Linked DNA regions of Homo sapiens: regions 2 and 3 are each linked to region 1. The links are contacts of gene promoters, found by promoter capture Hi-C in human tissues and cell types (Jung and others, 2019). All regions are on one chromosome and are shown on one strand. Each heading gives the region's core, a stretch centred on a gene start or on the middle of the fragment in contact. The rest is flanking DNA. Distances are from core to core; before and after follow the strand shown.

Region 1 (4,752 bases), core at 726-3,225:
AAAGAAAGTCTTTTGTTTCTTCCCCATCTATTCCTGTGTCTCTTCATATTGTTCACTACAGTAGTTTTAATGTTGCTTTTTGATATTACTACATTTGGTTGCAGATTCGGATTCCCAAATTTTCTGTGACATGACTGCCTCTGGCTGTTTTTTAATTATAGGGTGTTTATAACAAAACATCTTTTTTCGTACTCCTGAGGGTTGGTCTGTTTGCTTATGTATATAAATCATTGTTATTAATATTATGTTTGTATTGCATCCATAATCCAAAGCTATCCTAGAATGTTCACTCCAAGAGAGCAGGGTTATCTTCCTTGTTCTCTCCTGGCACTTAGGTGCTCAATAAATATTCGTTGAATGAATGAATTTCAGGCCTTCTTCTAGGGCTGCTCTAGTCTCTGGAAACAGCACAACCCCCAAGGTTTTTTTTTTTTTTTAATAATTTATCGGTCCTATAGTGTATTTATTTATTTATTTATTTATTTATTTATTTATTTATTTGAGATGAGGTGTCTCCATATTGCCCAGGCTGGGATCGAACTCCTGAGCTCAGGTGATCTTCCCACCTCAGCTTTTCAAAGTGCTGGGATTACAGTGGTGAACCATGACGCCCAGCCTTAGTGTTTTTCTTGAGGGCTGTGGAATCTTTATGTTCACTTCCACTGGGACTCATGCTCACTTGCTCGTTAGGCATGGATAAAACATCTTTCTTAAACTGACAGTGAGGAGATAAGAGATGCTGGAAAGCAAAAAATGTCTAGAAGGGTTATGGGAAGAAAGCTAGGAATCATTTCTACAAGTGGTGGAGATGACAGAAAGATGCTTTTAAACTAAAAATCCTTAAAGGATGGTATGATTGGTATTGTGTCTGTCATTTTTATGATACCTGCATTATTTAGCATGGAATTTTAAAGACAGGGCACACAGTTATGAGAAGCAGCCCTAAACTAGAACAAATATTTCCTTATTCTCAGTCCAATGCTCTTTACTATATAAGAGGCAATAAGGGATAAAGAATGCGGGCTGGGTTCAAATTCGTCTTCCTTTCCCATTTAATAGCTATGGTCCCATTCTGTTCCTCAGTCCTCTTATCTGTAAAATGGACATAATACTAACCTGTACCTCTTAGGGTTGCTTTGAAAAATTCAATGACTTTATACATGTAATTCCCAGAATCAGTAAACACCCAAAAAATGTTTCTCAGTGTTCTCTATACCAAATGTTCAGTACATGTATTGAACTGTTCACAAAAGAAAGCTAAAGACTTTTTATGTGTAAACAGTGATCCTCCAGCCTCTGTCTGATTTATTTTTTATTTATATATTTTTTTGAGACGGAGTTTCGCTCTTGTTGCCCAGGCTGGAGTGCAATGGCGCGATATCGGCTCACCGCAATCTCCGCCTCCCAGGTTCAAGAGATTCTCCTGTCTCAGCCTCCCGAGTAGCTGGAATTACAGGCGTGCACCACCACGCCCGGCTAATTTTGTATTTTTAGTAGAGACGGCGTTTCTCCATGTTGCTCAGGCTGGACTCGAGCTCCCGACCTCAGGTGATCTGCCAGCCTCAGCCTCCCAAAGTGTTGGGATTACAGGCGTGAGCCACCGCGCCCGGCCTGTCTGTCTGATTTTATACTAGCTGTGTACAGTGGTGAGGGAACAGCAGCCTAGGACCACAGACTGAGGGTCCAAAAGTAGCCGGAAAACGAGCCACGCTGCAAGGTGGAAAAATATTAGCTGGCAACCCGCCCCGCAGCCCGCTCTCCGCCCCCTTCCCCGGCTCACTCTCCTCCGGGCGGAGTTGCTGACAGACAGTCTGTCTTAGCCACCCCAACCTCGCATTTTCTCAGCGCTCCGCCCTCCCAGACACGATAGGTAGTTGGTCTCGGCCAATGGCGACATCCTGTCATACGAGCGGTAGCCAATGAGTAGCCAGGAGTCCGGAAAGGGGCGAGGCCGATCTGAGAGCCGCTGGCGCCACTAGAGAAGGGCGAGCGGCGCGGCAGAGTGCGGCGCAGCGCAGCTCCTGAGGTAAGATGGCGGTGCTCTTTCCTCTAAGCTCTTGCGGTTGGGCTGCTATTTCGCTCTTTTTGTCAGCTCAGAGCTGCTACTCCGCCTCAAAGCAGTGTCAGAGTCAGTCTCCTTCCTGCAGGCTTCCAGGAGCCAGGATCTCCGGTGACTGGAGCCGTAGGACAAAATGGCGCTCGCATAGGCTTCCGAGGCCAGGCCCAGTCGTGCGCTCTGAGGCAGGCCGGGACAAAGGCGGCGTGCGGGGAGGCGGCGTGGCCGCCGCGTGGGGCTGGTGTTGTCGCTTCCCTTCGTGCTGCAGCTGTGCGAGTCCTGAAGATACATTCAGCGTGGTGTGGTTCGGGGTGGGGCCGGGCATGGAGGGACACGCTAAAGGGAGGCAAAGCCACAGATGCCTGTGGAGACTTGGGGAGGGCGGCGGGGACTTACGGAGCGTACCTTACGGGGACGACTTCTGCATGTCCTTTGGAAACTGTCCGCGCGATCTGTGTGGAGCAGGAATTTTCGGGAAGGGTAAGGGCTTTTTGGTCTTTCGTTTGACCCCGCAGGTTTTGGTTATGAACAGGATTCGGATTCACGTCTTGCCAACCAATCGGGGGAGGATCACTCCAGTGCCCAGGTCTCAGGAACCTCTGTCTTGTGCATTCACTCATCGTCCATGCTCTCACCCTCGTCTGGAGGGGCAGGAGTTTTGCATTAAGCATATCCTTGAAGACAAGAATGCACCCTTCAAGCAGTGTAGTTATATATCGACGAAGAATGGAAAAAGATGTCCCAATGCTGCCCCAAAGCCAGAGAAGAAAGATGGGTATATATGTATAGATATATATGTCGTTTTTCTTAAAGCGAGGGGGTATGTGATATGATGCGGGCTTCAGCATAGCTGCCGCGTTTGAGATTTTGTCCTTGTAAATTTGGGGTTATGGTTGTATCCTTGGAAAACTGAAAAAACGGTGAAGACTGGAAAGACCCTTGAGTTGGATTACTTAGTTCACCTCTTTGGTTCTTTTCCCTTATCTGTAAAATAAAGGCATATTCTAAATTAGTCTTTTTTTTTTTTTTTTTTTTTTTAAGAGAGATGGGGTCTTGCTATTTTGACCAGGCCGGTCTCAAACTCCTGGCCTCAAGGTATCCTCCCATCTCGGCCTCCCAGAGTGCTGGGATTACAGGCGTGAGCGACCGCGCCCGGCCCTAAAGTTAATTTTTTGGCGGGGGGGCGGCGCACAGATTCTTGCTTTATTCCCCAGGCTGGAGTGCAGTGGAGATCTCGGCTCACTGCAACCTCCTCCTTCCAGGTTCAAGCGATTCTCCTGCCTCCTAAGTAGTTGGGACTTAAGGCGTGCGCCACTATGCCCGGCTAATTTTTGTACTTTTTAGTAGAGACGGGGTTTCACCATGTTGGCCAGGCTTGTTTTGAACTGCTGACCTCAGGTGATCCATCCGCCTCGGCCTCCCAGAGTGTTGGGATTACAGGAGTGAGCCACCGCACCTGGCCCCTAAAATTCTTCTTAATGGAGGGGTGTGTGGCTCTATTTGGCTGTCCATGAATTTTGTTAAATAACATGCAAAGTTATATATGTGTGTATTCTTCTGTAAGAGGCTTCATAGTTTTCATCATGTATGCAAAGGTATCCATGCAAAAACATAACCTGACTAGATAATTTTTTACGTATCTTATAGTTTTAAAATTGTGTCCCTGGCTGGTCGCAGTGGCTCATGCCTGTAATCCCAGCACTTTGGGAGGCCACGGGAGGAGGATCACTTGAGGCCAGGAGTTGGAGACCAACCCAGGCAATACAGTGAGACCCCGTCTCTACAGAAGATTAAAAAACTCGCTGGGCATAGTGGCGTGGACATGTAGTCCCCACTACTTGGGAGGCTGAGGTGGGAGGATCACTTGAGCCTGGGAGTTCCAGACCAGACTTGGCAACATAGACTTCGTTTCTACAAAAAACTAAAAAAAATTTGCTGGGCACAGTGGTGCATGCCTATAGTTCTAGCTACTTTGAGGCTGAGGCAGGAGGATCGCTTGAACCAAGCAGTTTAAGGCTACAGTGAACTATGATTGCACCACTGCACTTTAGCCTGGGCAACAGAGCAAGACCCAATCCCTTGCCTCAGCCTCCCAAAGTGCTGGGATTACAAGGGTGAACCACTTCATCCGTCCTGTTATTTCCCTTTAATAAAGTCAAATGAGTTGACCTTGGGCCAGTTAAATTCCTCTGACTTGCATTTTTAGAAATGAATGTAATAGTCATTTTAATTCCCTAAAAATGATTTAAAGATTAGGGACTGTGAACATTATTGAACGCTTTCAAGAAGGAACTTATAAAATATTAATGTTTTGTCTCTTCAGGGTGTCCTTCTGTGCTGAACATGTCCGTAGGAATGCCCTGGCACTTCATGCTCAAATGAAGAAGACCAACCCAGGGCCTGTGGGTGAAACACTCCTGTGCCAGCTGAGCTCATATGCTAAGACAGAGCTGGGGTCTCAGACTCCAGAAAGTAGTCGCAGTGAAGCCAGCCGAATACTAGGTAAGGACCTTCTCTCCTGGAATGAAAAAGGAGGAAGAAAGTTAAGGGGGAACTATTTTGGGTTAGCACAATGCCTTGATCTATTTGGCAATATTGTTAATTCATCAGGAATTTGGTGAGAATGCTGGGATTGCTTTGTTGTTTACCAGTTCTTTTGAATTTGAAGTTGTGTTTGCCTAGGTTTACTTTCCTGA
Region 2 (4,752 bases), core at 703-3,202, 600 kb after region 1:
AGATCATGCTGCTATAGCTCCAGCCTGGGTGACAGAGTGACCTCGTCTCAGAAAAAAAAAAAAAGATAGTCACAGAGAACTTTATGCTAGTTATTCCAACTTTATAAGCTCTATCTAACAAAACTTACATGGATTATTAAAGGCAGATGAAATCTGGCTTAGAAACTTTTCCCTCAGATATTTTGTTATATTAGTATTTATTATATTAGTAAACATTTCTTTTTTAAAATAGTATTTATGACTACTTAAATTCTGCCCTGGTATATTTTAGGAATGTGGGATTATTTAGTGTACTGTTTAGTCAAGTTTGAGCTTTATGGTGTTGATAGAAGCCAACAAGATGGCTTTTATTATTTTATGCACATGGACTCCAGGAATGTGTCAATACTCCCTGGGATCATGTTCCTCACTTAACTTTTAAAAAATTATACAGTAATTCACTCATACACTCACATTGTAGAAATCAACACATTACCAGCAAAGCTGAAGATCCCTTGACCACTACCCACAATCCCAATCCCTTTTCCTTGGTGTGTTTCCTTCCAAACCTTTTCCTATACCTATTTCTCTCTTACTCTTTCTTACTCATATATAGTATGATATATATGTTGTGTATACTATTAAATGTATGATATTATTTTGTCTTCATTAAAGATTTTCTATATGCATCATTTAGCAGGTGGCTTTTTTAATGCAATAAAGCCATGCTGTTATTTTAAAAAAATGTTATTACAGAAGTAGTACAAATACTTTGGGAAAGTTTAGAAAATATAGTTAAGAAAAATAAAAAATAAAAACATCACATTGCCACCAGCCTGAGATCAACTCTGTAATATCTTAGTACATATCCTTCTACATACTTTTCTCTACTTTTTTTCCAAAATGAGTTTATAGTATACATATTCTTTTGTAAATTTTGTTTTATACCCTAAGTCATATTTAAATTTTCTCAGTTGACCCAAAAGTATCTTTTATAGTTAGTTTAGTTTTGCATCTGGAAGTTATTGGCTTTGTCACTTATAACTAGAACAGCCTTTTTTTGTTTTGTTTTGTTTTGTTTTGTTTTGTTTTTTTGTTTTGTTGAGACGGAGCCTTGCTCTGTCGGCCAGGCTGGAATGCAGTGGTGTGATCTCGGCTCACTGCAACCTCCGCCTCCCAGGTTCAAGCAATTCTCCTGCCTCAGCCTTCCGAGTAGCTGGGACTACAGGTGCCCGCCACCATGTCCTGCTAATTTTTGTATTTTTAGTAGAGACGGCATTTCGCCATATTAGCAAGGCTAGTCTCGAACTCCAGACCTTGTGATCTGCCTTCCTTGGCCTCCCGATCCCTTCCTGGGATTATAGGCATGAGCCACCATGCCCAGCCTCAGCCTCCTTTTTTTAAATGACATGACTTTTCTGTATAATGTTCTACTTTTTGGATTTGGCAGGTTGCTTCCTCGTGGTATCATTATTTTGTCAAAAAATCACCTGTATTTTTTATAAGCTAGGTTTTAGATGTGACTAAAAGGTGTGCTGCATTTATCACATTTGAAAAACAAACAGTATCTTGTTTTGGTTCTCCTATTATTCATGATGCTAGACTGACCTCTGGATTGAGGAACTGACAGTCTGGTGGTTAATTGTACAGTTAGGTTTTTTCCCGTGTGACTTGAATGTAATCTAAATAATGTTACTTTGGCGTTATATGAATGATGAATTTCACATCAGCCATCACCTAATAATTAATATCATTTGCTAATACCTGATAATAGTTTTATTAGAGTTAATGAAATAATATTTTTCTAATTTTATCACTTTTACACTTCTTAATTGGCATTCTGATTGCATTTTTCCTTAGCTGGGGCTATTAGAGTCCCTGAAATGTGTTTCCTATGGGAAAGGCCTGATACATGATTAGATTTTTCTTTTTCATTACCAGTTTTCAAAGCAAGGTTTTTGTAAAATAGACACTTCATATGTTTCAAATGAATTTGTCTGTTCCTTTTTTAGTGTCATTATGGATTCAGTATTTTGTAATCCACTATAATTGTTATACTTTTAATGCTCACATTCTCAGAAATTTGGCTAGTGGAAGCCCTTTAAGCTTGCTTCTGTCTGTTTGACCTTAACTCATGAATTTTGGGTAACACCCTTGCTTTCTGTCATTGCAGGATGCCCTTGTACTGTTTCTTTAGAAGAGTAATCTTTTATGTTAAAAAAAACATGCATAGGCGCACGCATACTCTGGGAAACACAAATACAGAAGACATTGTGGAGAATCCATCATGTCTTTACCAAACAATTGCACTGCCCTTGCCATCTTTTCCTAGCTGCATCCACTCATCCTAAGAAAATAAGCCTGTTCCTAAAATTCTAAGTCCTTGCTCATTTCCCCATTCTTTTTTTTTTTTTTTTTTTTTTTTTGAGAGAAGCAAGAATATGACTGTAATTTAACATCAACAATGACACTGTGTAACAGCACAGGGAAGAGGTAGTGGAGAGAGATGGTCAGGCTTCCTGTTCCTTAACCAGCCTTGATTTTAACAGCAGAGCCCCAGCAACCTAGAAGCGCCTCACCTAGCCTCTTAATGGAGTGGGAAGGGGCAGGGACTTGGAAATTAGAGGCTCAAAATGTAAAGAAGGCTGATGGCAAGCCTGGGGAGAGGCCTGAGAATGAGGGAAGGGCTGAGGGCTGTGAGGAGTCCTCACACAAAGACCCTAGCACAGGTCTTCGGCAGTGAACATGCCCCTGGCCCTCCGCAGGGTGGAGTCCTTGGCGTCCTCATATGGGTGCTCCTTGGAGGGGATCTCCAGGACAGTAGGGATAGAGTGCTGGTGGGTGTCCAGGGCATGCTGCACCATCTCTGCGATGTACTGGTTGATGAGGATGATGCCAGTGTCATCCCGGTTTAGAAATTGCCGGAAAGTGTCTTCGATCTCATTGATGGTCGTATCCTTCTCCACCACCAGGAAATTGGGGTGGCAGTTCTTGTTAAGCTCCCCTATGCTGCCCAGCAGGAAACCAGTCACCGTGTCCTTGTCTCTGATCACTGCGATGAGCTTCCTTCTCCCCGCCATCCCTGCAGCCAGGCAGAGCTCACCCCAGAGCACCAGAAGCCACTCTCATTTCCCCATTCTTAACACACGTACAAACCCAAGAAGACTTAAAGAGAATTATGCACTGTTTGATTTTCTTTAGATCTTGTCTGATTTGGATTCAGACCACATGTAATGATTTTAAAGAGTTGATTTCATTGAATTTAGAATATTCAGCTGTGTTTCTCTAGTCTGAGTCTTGAAGAAAAAAGAAAATGTATTATGCTAAGAATAAGTACCTCAAACTTTCCAGGTAATGATAAATGAGAAAGAGCACATAGAAAAAACTCAAAATTGGCTGGGTGCTGTGGCTCACATGTGTAATCCCAGCACTTTGGGAAGCTGAGGCCGGCGGATTACCTGAGGTCAGGAGTTCAAGATCAGCCTAGCTAACATGGTGAAACCCTGTCTCTACAAAAATACAAAAATCACCTGGGTGTGGCGGCGGGTGCCTGTAATCCCAGCTATTCGGGAGGCTGAGGCGGGAGAATCACTTGAACCTGGGAGGTGGAGGTTGCTGTGAGCCAAGGTCGTGCCACTGCCTCCAGTCTGAGTGACAGAGCAAGATTCCATCTCAAAAAAAAAAAAAAAAAAAACTCAAAATTAGTAAGCCTTAGATATAAGACAGGGTTTTTGAGTTCACAATATTCTTCTTGCCAATTTGCCAATTTTTCCCATTAGATAGTATAAAGAGACAAAAAATTCTTCAGAGGAAGTAAATAGGCCAGAAGGAGAATTTAATGACGCAGCCTAATAGTTGTTTTTAATGAAGGATGGGAGCCCTCTGTTGGTCTTTAAGGAAATTTAAAAATTCAGTTTAAAAGCTTAGTTGAGAGGCTTCAGCCTTTATGCATTTTTACATATTTAATCTTAATTTCCTCCAACAGGCTGGGTACAAGGGGTACAGGGAATAATAGAAAATGTATGTGTTGTTAGCATACCTGGAACCCAGGTTTTTTGAAGACATCTAATCTGTTATGCTTTGTCATACCACAAAACTATATGGTTTCTGACCAAAATAAATTCTAGATTGTGGATCTAAAAATGCAGTTTTAAGTGTTTGATAATTTTGACAATGTAAGATCTTTTAAGTGGCAGAACCTGATGCAGCATCCTTATATATCATTTATTCATTTATTGTATCTTTCCCTCAAATGGGAAACCTATTATTTTACCTGTTTTGTTTGGTTGGTTTTATATTTTGAAAGTGAAAATAATCTCTAGGTTGGATTTATTTTACTTATTATCTGTTCTTATCTTTCTTACAAACTCTTTTTTTAGTGGATTATCAAACAGTTTTGCGGGAAAGTCAAACCATCACTGCCATGTATCTGCATATGAAAAATCTTTTCCTATTAAACCTGTTCCAAGTCCATCTTGGAGTGGTTCATGTCGTCGAAGTCTTTTGAGCCCCAAGAAAACTCAGAGGCGACATGTTAGTACAGCAGAAGAGGTAAGGAAAACGTGTGACAAAAGCTACTAAAAGTTAGGATCTTTCCCTACATTGAGCCATTTGCTCCCTATTAATAATTAGTTGTTTAAGAACCATTCTATTTTATCCTTCCTGTGCTTTTTCTGTCTGAATTACTCTTTTTGAGTGTTATCATCTATTCTAAAGAGATTAAAGAGGTGTTTTAGCAGGACTTCATTATTTGTCTTACTATTATATCTTCTA
Region 3 (4,752 bases), core at 1,224-3,723, 520 kb after region 1:
GGCTGCTCCAGTGAGGGCCTGCCCACTCTGCCTGCACCTCCGCGGGCCAATTGAGCCACAGCCCCGATGATTCTTAACACCGCCGCCCACCCCCTCCACCCCAAAAATCACTGTGAAATTTCATGATTGGCTTAAAGTGAAGGAAATAAAGGTAAAATAACATATATATATACATATATATGTAATAGAATTGACTAGTCTTTTATTGATTCTGGGTTTTGAGACATAGGAATGCTTTGCCCGCTATTCCCAGGGATGCATGGGTAGTTTACACAGAAATCTACACGTGCCTTCTTCTAGACTTGAAGAGTTTCCATGTAGTCATGTTTAGCTAACGAAGCCACGTGGAGTTTTTCTTGGATGTGCAGTATAAGCTATGGATCCAATGTTACCTTCTTCCACATGGTACCCAGTTGTCTCAACAGCATATATTTTTAAAGTCCATTTTTCACATTGTTTTATAATGTCTAACATACATTAAATTTTTATATGTACTTAGATTGATGCCTAGACTTTCTACTATGTTCCATTAGTGTGTCTGTCTATATGCACCAATTTTATACTAGTTTGATTATGAAGGTTTTGTAATATCTTAAATGTCCGATAAGACTGGCCCCTCCTCATTGCTCTTCTTTTCAGGACTTTCTTGGATATTCTTGTTATTTCTTCCATATGAACTTAAGAATCAATTTGTATAACTAAAAAACAAAGTGAAACAAAAAAACCCTTGGCTTTTTTATTGGAATAATGTTAAATTTACAAATTCACTTAGAATGTCTTTCATTTTTTTCAGGTCTGTTTTATGTCTCTGAAGCTATTATATTAATAGTTTTCCTCATAGGCTTTACATATTTCTTTTACCTTTATACCTAGGAGTTTTGTAATTGTGGTCACTATTACCAATTGGCTCTTGATTCCATATTATTTTCTAACTGGTTCATCCTTGTATCTTACGTGTGAAGCCTGTTGACTTCTGTATATAGCTTTTATATTCTGCTACCATATAGATTCATCTTTTTGTTTGTGTAGTTTATTCATTGATTTGCTTTTGTTATCTAGGTATACCTATATCATCAACAGTTTTCACACATCCAATAGGTTTCTTTTGTAAAAATGCATTGGCAAATACCTCCAACATCGTGTTAATGTTACAGTAATGGTGGGTATCCTTGTCTTGTTTCAGACATTAACAGGAATGCCTCCAGTGTTTTCCTATGAAAATAGTAAGATGATGATAAACAAGATGCTGTATGATGTTAAGAAAATTATCTCCCATTCTTCTTTTGTAACTTACTTTTATAGGAAATTCAACTTTAATTTTTTCAAATGCTTTTTCAGCACCTAGGAAGATAATTACAGGACTTTCCTTCTTAGATATAATTATATTAATTATATTAATGAATTTCCTAACATTGGACCATCTTTACCTTCCCAAAACAGTTTCTACTTTGTCATGACATACTGTGCTGTCTAATTCAATTTGCTAATTTTTTTAAGCATTTCTGCCTATGATATTCATAAATGATATTGGTTTGTAATTATCTCTTTTGTATAATCTTTATTAGGTTTTGGTTTCAATGCTATATTTATGTCATTAAAAATTTTTGAATTGGGATAAGGGGTCTTCAAAGAATATCATTTTAAACCATCTTGGACACTTTTAGAAAGAGATATATATATAGGCCAGGCATGGTGGCTCATGCCTGTAATCCTAGCACTTTGGGAGGCTGAGGTGGATAGATCACCTGAGGTCAGGAGTTTGAGACCAGCCTGGCCAACATGGCAAAACCCTGTCTCTACTAAAAATACAAATATTAGCTGGGCGAGGTGGCATGCCCCTGTAATCCCAGCTACTAGGGAGACAGAGGCAGGAGAATCACTTGAACCTGGGAGGCGGAGTTTGCAGTGAACTGAGATGGCGCCACTGCACTCTAGCCTGGGCAGCAGAGCAAGACTCCATCTCAAAAAAAAAAAAAAAGAAAGAAAGATATATACACAGAGTCTCTCTCTCTCTGTTGCCCAGGCTGAAGTGCAGTGGCACCATCTCAGCTCACTACAACCTCCGCCTCCTGGGTACAAGCGATTCTCCTGCCTCAGCCTCCTGAGTAGCTGGGATTACAGGCACTCATCACCACGCCCGGCTAATTTTTGTATTTTCAGTAGAGGCAGAGTTTCACCATGTTGGCCAGGCTGGTCTCGAACTCCTGACCTCAAATGATCCACCCACCTGGGCCTCACAATGTGGTGGGATTACAGGTGTGAGCCACTGCGCCCAGCCTAGGAGTCATTCTTGACCACAATACCCTTCTCCAACTTGTAACCAATCACCAAGTTCTATCAGTCCTAACACTAAAATATTTCAAATTCACCCCCTTCTCTCCCTTTCTATGGCCACCACTCAAATCTAAGCCTGCTTGACTTTTTGTCCAGATCACTTAGGCTGCTGTTTTCTCTATTTTAATCCTTGCCTTGGCTCCACTATAATCCATTCTTCTTTAAAAAGTCAAAGTGGTCCTTTAAAAACACACATGTGGTCATGTCACTTGAATAAAACCTGTTGATAGGCTTCTTGTTCTTTTGGGATACAGTTCAGAATCCTTAACATGTCCCCCAAGACCGCACCTGATCTGGAGCCTCCCTACCTTTCCAGCTTCTTGTCTTCTCATTCTGGCCTCTTCCTTGTCTTCCAGGTTCCTAAGCTCTTTCCTCCTTAGGGTCTTTGAATACCCTGACCCTGCTCCATTGGCTGGGAGGCCCCCTCCCCACACCTCCACACCTTTGACCTGGTTGTTTCCACCCATCTTCCAGGTCTATGCTCAGGGAAGCTTTTCTTGACCTCCCAGCCTGAATTAGGTCCTCTACTGAATCATCCTATTACCCTCTCTACTATTTCTCTTTGTTTATTTGGGCACTATAACAAAAGTACTGTAAACTGGGTGTCTTGTAAACAACAGAAATTTATTTCTCACAGCTCTGGAGGCTGGGAAGTCCAAGAAATCCCAGATGTTGGTGTCTGGTGAGGCCCCACTTGCTCATAGATAGAACTTTCTCACTGTGTCCTCATATGGTGGAAGGGGCAAAGTTCCCTCTTTTAGAAGGGCACTAGTCTCATCACGAGGACTGTGCTCCTATGACCTAATAACCTCCTTCATGAAGGCCCCACCTCTTAATACTGTCACCTTGGGGGGTGGTTAGGATTTCAACATATGAACTTTGAGATGACATAAATAGTCAGTCCATTGCACTTTTCCTTTACAGAAGTCATCACTATTGTGACTATTTAGGCATACAGGTGACTATCTAATATTTGTTTCTCACATCAAACTGTAATTTTCCTAGTGATCAGGACCATATTTCTCTTGATCTTAGCTGGCTGGATCTTTAGTGTCTATCACAACAAACAGCACAGTGACAGAACTTAATAAGTATTTGTTGAATTAATGGGTGAATTAATCAATCAACCAATTAATGATATAATCAAAGACTCAATGAATGAACCAAGAACGAATCATTCAACTTTGGGCAAGAAGCAAGAAGGAGCAAATGCTCTACTTGCCCTCCAGGGGGAGACACACTCCCATTAGAAATAGCATAGACCCAGGTGAGCAGAAAATTCTGACATTGATTGTAATTTGCTTCTCAAATGGATTCAGAGAACCAGATCTTTTTTCTTTTCCTTTCTTTTCTCTTTGTCTTGCTCATAGAACTCTCCAGATTAATCTGGACCACCCAATTGTACCAAGCAAGTAGTCATTTCCTCTGTAATTTCCCTCCCCTGGACGACATTAACTCTCCTACCAGTTTGTCCCCTTCAGTCTTGATTTGCTAGGTAATTTAGCTATAAATGCCTACATTCTTGGAAAAATAGTATCATATATATATATAATTTCAGTATTATCATTAAAATTGTTATTTGTATTTTTACTGTACTTTTTTTTTCAAAATCCTTCAGGCAATTTTTCTCTATGAAGACTGAAAATGTTTTATAATTGCTCTGATAGTGGAAAATATTGGTAGACTATATGACCAAAAATAATAACAAAATATTGATTAAAAGCCAATTTTTAAAAAATAGATAATTCATAAAATTTCCCAAGCCCTGGGGAAAGTTAAAAGGAAAAAAAAAAAAGAGTAGAGTTTGGCTATTGAGCGCATGTCTGCCTCTGAGCAGTTTCTGAAAGAAGTCCTTGTTTAATCCTGATGGCATGTCTTGGGAGAGTATCCCTGCTGCACATTAATACTGTTCTTTTCTTTGCTGAATTACTTTCTCTAGTACAAGGTTTAAGCATATGAAAGGTTTCATGAGACTTACATTATGTTTCCTCTGAACTTTCTTTTTCTTTGCTCTAGTTCCAAAGCTTCCTTTTCAATTTTTCTACGTCAGGGACTAGGACATAGAGGCACTCCACTATTCCCATTTTTGGGAGATCTGTTCATTTTAGTTCAATTCCATTGTATTTATTAAATAACTATTGTGTGTTTAGAACTGTGCAATGACAAAAGAGATGAGTATAGAAATCTAAATCTCTGCTCTTTTAAAGGCGCCACAATGTAACTGGGAGGATGAGATATTTGGTAACCTCCTTGAACAAATATAAAATCATATAAAGATGACATGTCAACATTTATGTAGTTTACAAAACCACTTTTCACAAATGTGGTCTAGGTTTTATGAAATTAACTTTTGGAGTAGGTGTTAATACTCTCATCCCATTGTACAACTGAGACTCAGGTAAAGTATTACTTACTTTA

Evidence for each region. The method cuts DNA at HindIII sites, captures the fragments that hold promoters and counts their contacts. A contact is called where the count stands out against the background at its distance.
Region 2: a contact is called between a fragment that was not itself captured here and the fragment with the promoter of KANSL2 in region 1, in 1 of the 25 tissues and cell types used here (hippocampus).
Region 3: a contact is called between a fragment that was not itself captured here and the fragment with the promoter of KANSL2 in region 1, in 1 of the 25 tissues and cell types used here (dorsolateral prefrontal cortex).

What each region holds. Positions count from the first base shown.
Region 1 is chr12:48,679,461-48,684,212 of GRCh38, reverse strand. It overlaps KANSL2 (KAT8 regulatory NSL complex subunit 2), which reads left to right and starts at 1,975. Exons shown (of 10, transcript NM_017822.4): 1 at 1,975-2,026; 2 at 2,572-2,831; 3 at 4,380-4,558. The coding sequence starts at 2,581. RefSeq lists silencers at 1,628-1,677, 1,718-1,927 and an enhancer at 2,008-2,277. The HindIII fragment of the contact is 9,488 bases long and covers 1-4,752 here.
Region 2 is chr12:48,083,369-48,088,120 of GRCh38, reverse strand. SENP1 (SUMO specific peptidase 1) reads left to right here. Exons shown (of 18, transcript NM_001267594.2): 6 at 4,359-4,530. It overlaps LOC101927180 (V-type proton ATPase subunit F-like), which reads right to left and starts at 3,667. Exons shown (of 1, transcript XM_047429952.1): 1 at 948-3,667. The coding sequence starts at 3,059. The coding sequence ends at 2,700. The HindIII fragment of the contact is 5,780 bases long and covers 1-4,752 here.
Region 3 is chr12:48,164,109-48,168,860 of GRCh38, reverse strand. It overlaps the pseudogene PHB1P18. Among named protein-coding and RNA genes, the nearest start is that of ASB8, 9.0 kb to the right of the region's middle. RefSeq lists silencers at 3,441-3,735, 3,501-3,795. The HindIII fragment of the contact is 4,714 bases long and covers 117-4,752 here.